2 separate regions of the Homo sapiens genome follow, and region 1 is linked to region 2. The links are contacts of gene promoters, found by promoter capture Hi-C in blood cells and fetal thymus (Javierre and others, 2016). All regions are on one chromosome and are shown on one strand. Each heading gives the region's core, a stretch centred on a gene start or on the middle of the fragment in contact. The rest is flanking DNA. Distances are from core to core; before and after follow the strand shown.

What was found. Contacts are between HindIII fragments. The CHiCAGO score rates a contact against its expected background, and 5 or more counts as called.
Region 1: a contact is called between a fragment that was not itself captured here and the fragment with the promoter of CORO6 in region 2, in 4 of 17 cell types (M1 macrophages, endothelial precursors, activated CD4 T cells and 1 more). The highest score is 5.9, in M1 macrophages.

Annotation. Positions count from the first base shown.
Region 1 is chr17:29,745,612-29,749,898 of GRCh38, reverse strand. All of the region lies in intron 3 of SSH2 (slingshot protein phosphatase 2), which reads left to right. Among named protein-coding and RNA genes, the nearest start is that of SSH2-AS1, 110 kb to the right of the region's middle. The HindIII fragment of the contact is 1,464 bases long and covers 1,152-2,615 here.
Region 2 is chr17:29,620,654-29,625,195 of GRCh38, reverse strand. It overlaps CORO6 (coronin 6), which reads left to right and starts at 2,284. Exons shown (of 11, transcript NM_032854.4): 1 at 2,284-2,508; 2 at 3,712-3,972. The coding sequence starts at 3,775. RefSeq lists an enhancer at 484-1,683 and a silencer at 2,471-2,620. The HindIII fragment of the contact is 1,950 bases long and covers 1,524-3,473 here.

The DNA of each region.
Region 1 (4,287 bases), core at 634-3,133, 130 kb before region 2:
AAAAATTAATCGGGCGTGGTGGCGGGCACCTGTAATCTCAGCTACTCAGGAGACTGAGGCAGGAGAATCTCTTGAGCCCAGGAGGCAGAGATTGCAGTGAGCCGAGATCATGCCACTGTACTCCAGCCTGGCAACAGAGTAAGACTCCATCTCAAAAAACAAACAAGAAAAAATAAGTTTTTAAAATAAATTTAGTGTAGCCTAAGTGTATGGTGTTTATAAAGTCCACAGTAGTTACAGTCATGTCCTAGGTCTTCACATTCACTCGCCACTCCCTCACTGACTCACCCAGAGCAACTTCCAGTCCTGCAAGCTCCATTGATTGTAAGTGCCCCTTACAGGTGTACCACTTTTTATCTTCTATACCACATTTTTACTGTGCCTTTTCTATGCGTAGATATGTTTAGAGATACAAATACTTAACATTATGTTACAGTTGGCCTACAGTATTCAGTATAGTAACATGCTGTACAGGTTTTCCACCTATATGGTTATCCCATATAGCCAGCCAAGGTGTGTAGTAGGCTGTACCATCTAGGTTTGTGTAAGTATACTCTATGATGTTCACGCAATGATAAACTTGCCTAATGATGAATTTCTCAGAATGTATTCCTGTCATTAAGTGATGCATGACTGTATTTATAACTCTCATTGCTTTGGTTAGGCCTTCTAATGTTAAGTAGTGCGATACTAGTGGGCTTGTGTGAAAAGAAGGCTTCTTATGTGTTGTAAATGAGTATACTGTGTGGTGTAGGTTCTGGCACAGATCATTTATCAAGCTGAGGCCATTTCTTACTATTGCTAATTTACAAAGATTTTTCAGTTAGGTATAGTTGAATTTTACTGACTGCTTTTTTATATCTACGGAATAATATTTTCCCCTTTACTGCTAATGTAATGACACATTGAATTATTGAAGTTGAATCATCCTTACATAACTGAACTACACCCTTTTTGCGTTATTCATTTAACATATTGCTAGGCTTGGTTTACAAATATTTAAGGTTTTGCATTTAGGGATCTAAATATTTATTGAATCTTTGCTGTCTTCGTCCAGCTTATGTCTGATTTACAGAATGATTTGGGTAGTTTTTCATTTTTTTCTGTGCTCTGAAACAGCTCTGTAGTAGGATTATCTGTATTTTAAAGCTTAGAACCAAGAAGTTTTATTCCAAGTATTTTTTATTTTATGAATTTTTTTTACCACTCACATTTTTAAATTTCCATGTTTGCATTGAATAAATATAATTATCATCTGTGATGCTCTTAAAATCTAGATCTTGTCTTCTACAGAAATGGGCAAGCATAACTGAATAATTGATAATTGAGTAATTGAAACCAGGCATTCATTTATGGTTTAAGGGCTTTTTTTTTCTCTTTTTGGTGGATAAAGAGACTAATATTAATATTTAAGAGAGGTACGAGATGCCTCTTTGATTTTAAATTAATACTGACTTTTTGTGGTTATTTTTGATCCTTAGAGAATATAGCCTTAAAATTTAGTATTTTTAAGAAAGTGATCAAATTGGTTTACATCTAGTGAATCTTCTGGGTGTTATGGCCTTCAAATGTGAAAGAACAGTTAATGATCCCCTGTCAAAGTATAAAGATGCATTTGTGTTTTTATTATTGGTGGTAACTTTCTGTGGCTTTATCCACCCTTGTGATTGTTTAAAATCAGCAGAGCAGTAATTAACCTATAACTGAGGGGTATAAAAAAAGAGCTCTCAACTTTGGCTTTCTTGGAATCATGCTTAGCCAAGTTAACTGAGAAGTAAATCTGCACAATGAAGATGAACAGGAATGGTAAGGTAGTGATGTGCTCAAGTCAAGATTTCTTTTTGATAAGTCTAGAATGGATTTCTTTTTTTTTCTAAACTACTACTATTTGCCTTTGTGCTCACCTATATTTACTCCTGAAATTGGAAAGTGTCTCTAGACTTAACACTGATAAACACTGCCCAAAGCCAAATAACTAAAGATGTTGTCAGTCTCTGTTTCCAAGAGCTGTTGGGTCTCGCAATAATAGAGAGGCTGAAACTGCTGTAGATCATCTTGCTCCCATCTGCTCTTGGGTCCTTCCAGTAAATGGGAGTCCTCTTAATCTACCATATGTTAAACTGCCTTGGGGCTAAAGAACAGTGATGTAGATGTTATCACACAATTTCTGAATCTTTCACATACTTTACAATTTCTAAGGTGGAAAGAAAAAATCAGTATCCTATTTTTAGTTAGGGTTAGAGTTAGCTTTGCATCGTTGAATGATACAGGATGGTTGCTGTATAACTAACATAATTAAGTTTACCTTAAAGAAATATGCTAAGAACATCAAGGCCTTTTTAGGTGTTCCTGTAATTTGGAAAGGGTGTAGCCAGTAATTTATAAATAGATTGTTCTTGTTGCACACCAAAGGGCAAATCTGGGCTCACCCTTTTTGCATGTTGTGTGAATTTAACAACTTGTGTTTTCTGCATTAATCTATTTTTAGAGGGGTATAACCCCTCTTTTAGTAATTCGAGGGATTTGGCTTAGTTACACTTGGTAAAGCTACAAAATCCAGAGGTTTGAATCACTCCTAAATAAAGAGAAGCCTCAGTATTAGCCAATTATAAGCTTTCTTTAAAAGTTGTAACAATTTAGGTTTCCAGGGTAGAAGAAGTAGAATTATTTGATTTTTTTTGGTAATGAACTAAACTATTTAAATTGTTGTATATGTTTGTTTGAGGATGGTACCTGCCTCATTTCAGGACATTTTGGATATCACGTGAGATAATTATTCACAAGAAATAACAATAAAAATTCCAGTTATGGTTGTTACTTTTATCATCTGTACTTAATATTTATCCATCAAAATTTACATGGATATTCGTGATCCATAACAGGATATTTCAAGTCCTGAGCGTTCTAATTGTGGACTTTATATTGATTGTCTTCTGTAGTGACTGCGGAAAAGTTTATGCTACATATGGCTTTATCTGTTTGCAACTTAAGCAACACTTTAAGCATACTTCATCACCCCAGCAAAAAGCTGGTCAGGTTTATGAGCTTGGCATCTTATTGGTGCATTTTTGTCTCTGCTGTTCTCTGAATTTTGTGTCATAAAAACCAGTTAGTCTCCATGAGGGCTAAATTGAATGAGAGTTTTTTTCCTCTGATTTTAAATAAATATCACTTACAACAGAGCTCTTGGGAGATGCCATTTCTTCAGGACTCTCCTCTGACCCACGTCCCTTTTAAGTTACTCTTTCTCTTAATGTTAATATACACAGTTCTCATGAACATCAAAAGTTTTAATTTCCCATAATTGTATCATCTCTCTTTTTTCCTTTTTTTTTTTTTTTTTTTTTTTTTGAGACAGAGTCTCACTCTGTCGCCCAGGCTGGAGTGCAGTGGTATGATCTTGGCTCACTGCAACCTCCGCCTCCCGGGTTCAAGGGATTCTCCTGCCTCAGCCTCCCTAGTAGCTGGGATTACAGGCGTCCACCACCACACCCGGCTAATTTTTGTTTTTTTTTAGTAGAGGCGGAGTTTCGCTATGTTGGCAAAGCTGGTGTTGAACTCCTGACCTCAGGTGATCTGCCTACCTCAGCCTCCCAAAGTGCTAGGATTACAGGCATGAGACATTGCACCTGGCCTCATCTATTTTTAGGGGGAGCTTTAGTTTGAAAAGTTGGGGTTTCTGTGGCAGGATGTGAATTCTCAATGTAAATCTCTCTTCCTAAGAGATGAGTGAAATAAATGGATTCAAACAACAAATAAAACTGAACCTCTTTGAAGTCCCTTTGAACAGACTTGATATCTATCATTGTGTTAATCCTACCTCTGTGATGCCCTTCCCTCCTCAATAAAATCTCACACTTAATTCTTAAAGTATCCCGTTCCTTAAACATTCTCTTTAAAAACTCTTAAAAGATTTATTGGGTCACATATTCAGAATAACTACTTGCCATTTGTTATTGTACCTAACAGTAATAGTGCAGTGTTTGAAATGAAATGGACCTGAGCTCCAGAGTTCATCATTTATTATCTGTGTGACTTTGAACATATTATATAATCACCCTAAACCTTTTTCCTCATCAGTAAAATGGAACTTATAATACCTATGAGGATTAAATACGATATGGTAGCTTAAATTTTTGCTCATTTTGCTCTTTTGATATGAGCCAAATTATAGGAGAAATAATTAGAGTGGCACACTAGCATGATGGTAAACATTCTGTCATTTCCATCATTATCCTAAATTGCATCTATTCTGTGTAAGAAGTAAGAGATAAAAAAGAAGTACAA
Region 2 (4,542 bases), core at 1,035-3,534:
CCAGGCCCAAGCAAATATCTGAATCCCTGTACCCAGAAAGCACTGCTCTTCCTAGATGATGGAACTGAAGGGAGCACGCATTGAAGGATTCCTGCTTCCTAGTCCCAAGCGCTTCCCTCTAGAAGGGAGTCTCCTGTTCTCTTTAAAGAGAAGGAGGGTGGGGGTAGGGGAGATGCCACTTCAGAGGAGGCAGCACATAAAATCCCTACTCTGCTAAGGAGTGGTGCAGAGTTGGAAAGAATCTGACCCAATCCTGTTCAGAGAGCTGTAAAAATATGGCGATTGAGCCAGGACTGGAACCAGTTTTTTAATTCATTCCAGGCATCCTTTCCTCTGTGCCACACAGTATAAACTCTCAGTTACGTTTTAGCTCAGCACTTGTGAGATAAAGTGGCACTGTCCTTCAGGGAGAGACAGAAATGCATGCTGCTGAAAAGCAAGAACCAGATGCCAGACCACGTGGGTAAGAATCATAGCTACATCAACTACCAGTTGAGGTTGTGATGGGTAAGCCACCTAACCTCTTTGTGGCTCCATTTCCTCAACTGTTAAATAGGGATAACAACAGTACCCACCTTAGAGGATTGTTTTTTGGTTTTTTGTGCGTGTGTTTTATTTGAGACAGAGTCTCATTCTGTCACCCAGGCTGGAGGGCAGTGGCATGATCTCAGCTCACTGCAACCTCTGCCTCCTAGGTTCAAGCAATTCTCGTGTCTCAGCCTCCTGAGTAGCTGGGATTACAGGTGTGCATCACCACACCTGGCAAATTTTTGTATTTTTAGTAGAGATGGGGTTTTGCCATGTTGGCCAGGCTGGTCTCGAACTCCTGACCTCAGGTGATCCACCTGCCTCAGCCTCCCAAAGTGCTGGGATTACAGGCGTTAGCCACCCGCGACCAGCCTAGAGGATTGTTAAGAGTATGAAATTAATACGTATAAAGCCCTTAGTGCCAGTGCCTAGCACATAAGCATGGGTTATTGTTGTAAAGGAGCAACTGAGTCACTCAGGTATTTTCCTCCTAATCATGTGCCTGGAATCTTTAGGTAAAAGAGAGATGACTCACATACCCTCATACCCTGCCCCAGCACCCCTACGCCAGGAGTTATTTCTGGAGCACTCGTAACAGTTTTTTATTCTGTTCCCCTACAAGCCACTGACTCTTGATTTGATTCTGTCCCTACAAGCCACCTGGACTCTTCCTGAGAAACAAAGGAGCCTCGTGGGCCCTTCATGGTTTCTACCACCTTCCCTCCCTTTCCTCCCCAGTGCTGGTTCCTGCCCTTCAGAAGGCTGTGTTCCATTCACTCACTCCCAGGTGTGCCCTGGAGGGTGGGAAGTAATAACTGGCCCCAGATGCCCTTATGATCCAAGGGAAGAAATCCAGGCAATGTGCAGACACTGGGTAGACTGGAGCTACGGGACTGGCTGGTCTTCACTGGCTGTATTTTGATCAGGTTATCTTTAATCTCCTTGACCTCGGTCAACATTCAGTTCTGTGAATATTGGGGGAGACGGGGGAAGCTTACCTGGAACACAGTCGGGCGCCAATTCAAACAAGGCCCAGAAAACATTAGGAGTCTGGCCTCTGAGTTGGCTTCTCTGACCCCTAAAATGTGACTAGAGACCGGTGCTAGCCTCTTCCCCCTGCATCTGGGAGGGGAGGGAGTGTCAAGGTGGGTTCACTTTACACTCGGTCCTCCCCTTGTTCTTTCAGCTGCTTCCTGCCCTGCTCCATGGAATCTCATCTAATGGGGTGAAATGCCTAGCACACAGCCAGCATTTTAGGTTTCTCAAATGATCGCTATTGCCATTCATAACAATAACTAACATTCACAACCCTGTGTCGGGTGCCCTCTCACTTGCCCTACATCAGGATCAGCCTGGGTCCTCATTCTCTAGGGCCTCTTTCCCCCAGGGAGGCCTGGAAGTGCAGTCCCGCAGTCCCGGCCGATCGGGACAGCTAAATTGGGAGCGCGATTGAGGCTGGAATGCGGGTGGAGGCACCTGGTCTCCCTCGGCTGCCCGCTCTAGGGGCGCACGCCCCCTCGCCCGTTCCCTCTCCAAGCGTCCTGCTCTAGGTCTGCGAACCCGAGCCTCCCCAGCCTACCCGGGAGTCATGGAGGGAGGGAAGCAGCGTGCGCACCTAGCACACAGCTGCACATTTATTTTCGATGGTTCTCCGAGGCCGGCGGAAGCTGGGAGGGGAGTCGGGGTCGCTCGACTTTCCCGCCGCTGGAGGGGGCGGGGCAACTTGGGCTCTGGCCCCGCCCCTATGCTAGCCCCGCCCTCTTAGGTTGATGGCAGCGGCAGCTGGGGCTGCAGCGGCGCCGGGCTCTAGAGAGCCGCAGGATCGGCCAGAGTGCGGAGCTGGACACCCGGGTCCCAGATACTACAGACACCCGGAGAGGTGGCTCCTTCGCCCTGAAGCCTTCCTCGGCCCCCTACGCACTCGGGCCCCTTCCGCAGAGGATTCGCAGCGTGAGCGCCCCGCAGCCCGCTCAGGACCAGGTACCCAGCCCCCCACACCCGGCCGTCACCGCAGCCAGCGGAGCGGGCGGGGTCCCTGAGGGGCAGAGGTCTGCGCCTCCTCCCCCCGCGCCGCCAAATTCGGTTTCGGGCGGGGAGGACGTGGTGTCTATATTTGGCCGGACAGCAGCCAGCGCTCCCGGAGGGCGCAGACACCTCGTCTCGCAAGAACGCAGTGTCAGGGCAGCAGGCTGAAGAAGGGTGCAGGGAGGCCGGGCCTCAGGCTCGGGGCCGCAGACGCGCCTTGAAGGGCACACGGATGCTGGGGCTGGGGTGGGGCAGGAGCCACTGGCTGGGGCTTTGGGAGTGCTCAGTGTGTCCTCTAGGGAGACCCTAGCTGGAGAAAAGGCACCTCACCCTCCCCACCCCTGCAAATCTGGCTTGGCCGTGGCGGGGGCAGGGGTGGAGGATGGGGTTGAAGACCCCACCCCTAGAAGAGTTCACTAGGAAGAAGGCCCAACCAGGGCAGAGGACCCAGAGGAGAAACCGGACAAGCCTATGGTAGGCAAAAGCCAGAAGACCATGATCAGGGCTTCCTGGAGAAGCCAGTGCAGAAAGGAGTGGGAGAAGAGGGATCCACCTCACTCTGTGCTGCCACCCGTCCCCCCACAAGGCATGGGATGAAAACAGTAGCAGAAAGGACTCAGATTGGTGGACAGGAGGAACTTCCCCCTTGGCAAAATTTTAGGAAAAGGCAAAACCCCATCTGCCTGAACTATTCCAGAGATGCGAGTTCGGTATCCTGTGGTGGCTGCAGTCTTGGCCCCATACCTGGCTTTAAGCCAAGATCCAATGGTCAAGTCTTCTGCTTCTGGACAGGGTGCCTCTGGGAGCTACAACCACGTCCGTGAAGAGATGCTCATCAAGGCTGGCGGTGGTGGGGGCGGGGGGTGCAGGCAGTGTGGCATTGAGGCTCCTCCCAAAAACATTCCAACGTCCAGAAAGCTTTCAGTCTGTTAGGCTCCACAATCCCCTCAGCCTGGGTCTCTGTGGAGAATTCAGGCCCCAAATCCTAGCCACTTACATTAAACAGCATTTTACACAGCAAAATAACTTTCCCATACTTTGACCACCTTGAAGAAAGCTCCCTGCTTCTAGGACCAGACACTATATGGATTTATACCTGACTCCTGACCACATAACCCTTCTCATCAGCCACCCCTCCACTCCTCCTCCCTCCCGCAGCTCACAGGACTAAGGACCAAAGGCATTTCTGGGCACTGAGATCCTACCTCTCTGCCTGCAGCTATGAGCAGACGTGTGGTTCGGCAAAGCAAGTTCCGCCATGTGTTTGGGCAGGCAGCAAAGGCCGACCAGGCCTACGAGGACATCCGTGTGTCCAAGGTCACATGGGACAGCTCCTTCTGTGCCGTCAACCCCAAATTCCTGGCCATTATTGTGGAGGCTGGAGGCGGGGGTGCCTTCATCGTCCTGCCTCTGGCCAAGGTGAGGGATCAGGGAAAGGAAGCAAGTGGGAGGACACTAGCTGGGGCCCCTGGGAACTCCTGAGCCTTTGTTCTCACCTAGTTCCATTCCATAGTCAGGAGAAGCATCTGTGTGGATTGGCTCCTCCCTATTCCCCAAGCCCTCAAGGACCAGAGGGGAGGCCACCCCACCCCACCCTAACATCAGGGTGGCTTACTCCCACTCCCTAGCCCTCCCACCTCTCCATGCACCACCCCATTCCCAGCAGGGACCAGGAGGGGAGCCGGGTGATGGAGATGGTTGGGACACAGCACAGCCAAGCCTGGCCAGATTCCATCACTGCCTCTCCTAATGCCGCATCCCCTCATGTTTTGGGTGTGGAGAACCTCCTCCCTAGCCCAAGATGACCATTTGATTAAGTCACATCCCAGAGCAGCAAACTGAGGACAGGGTCAGGCTCTATCCAAAGAGTCCCTGGTTACCTCCAAGGACACTTGCAGTGAAGTAGAAAGAAAGGGAACGGAAAGGAAGGGGGACATGACACATAAAGCCAGAGCCCTCCCTACCCTCAGGATGGGGACCAGGCAATGA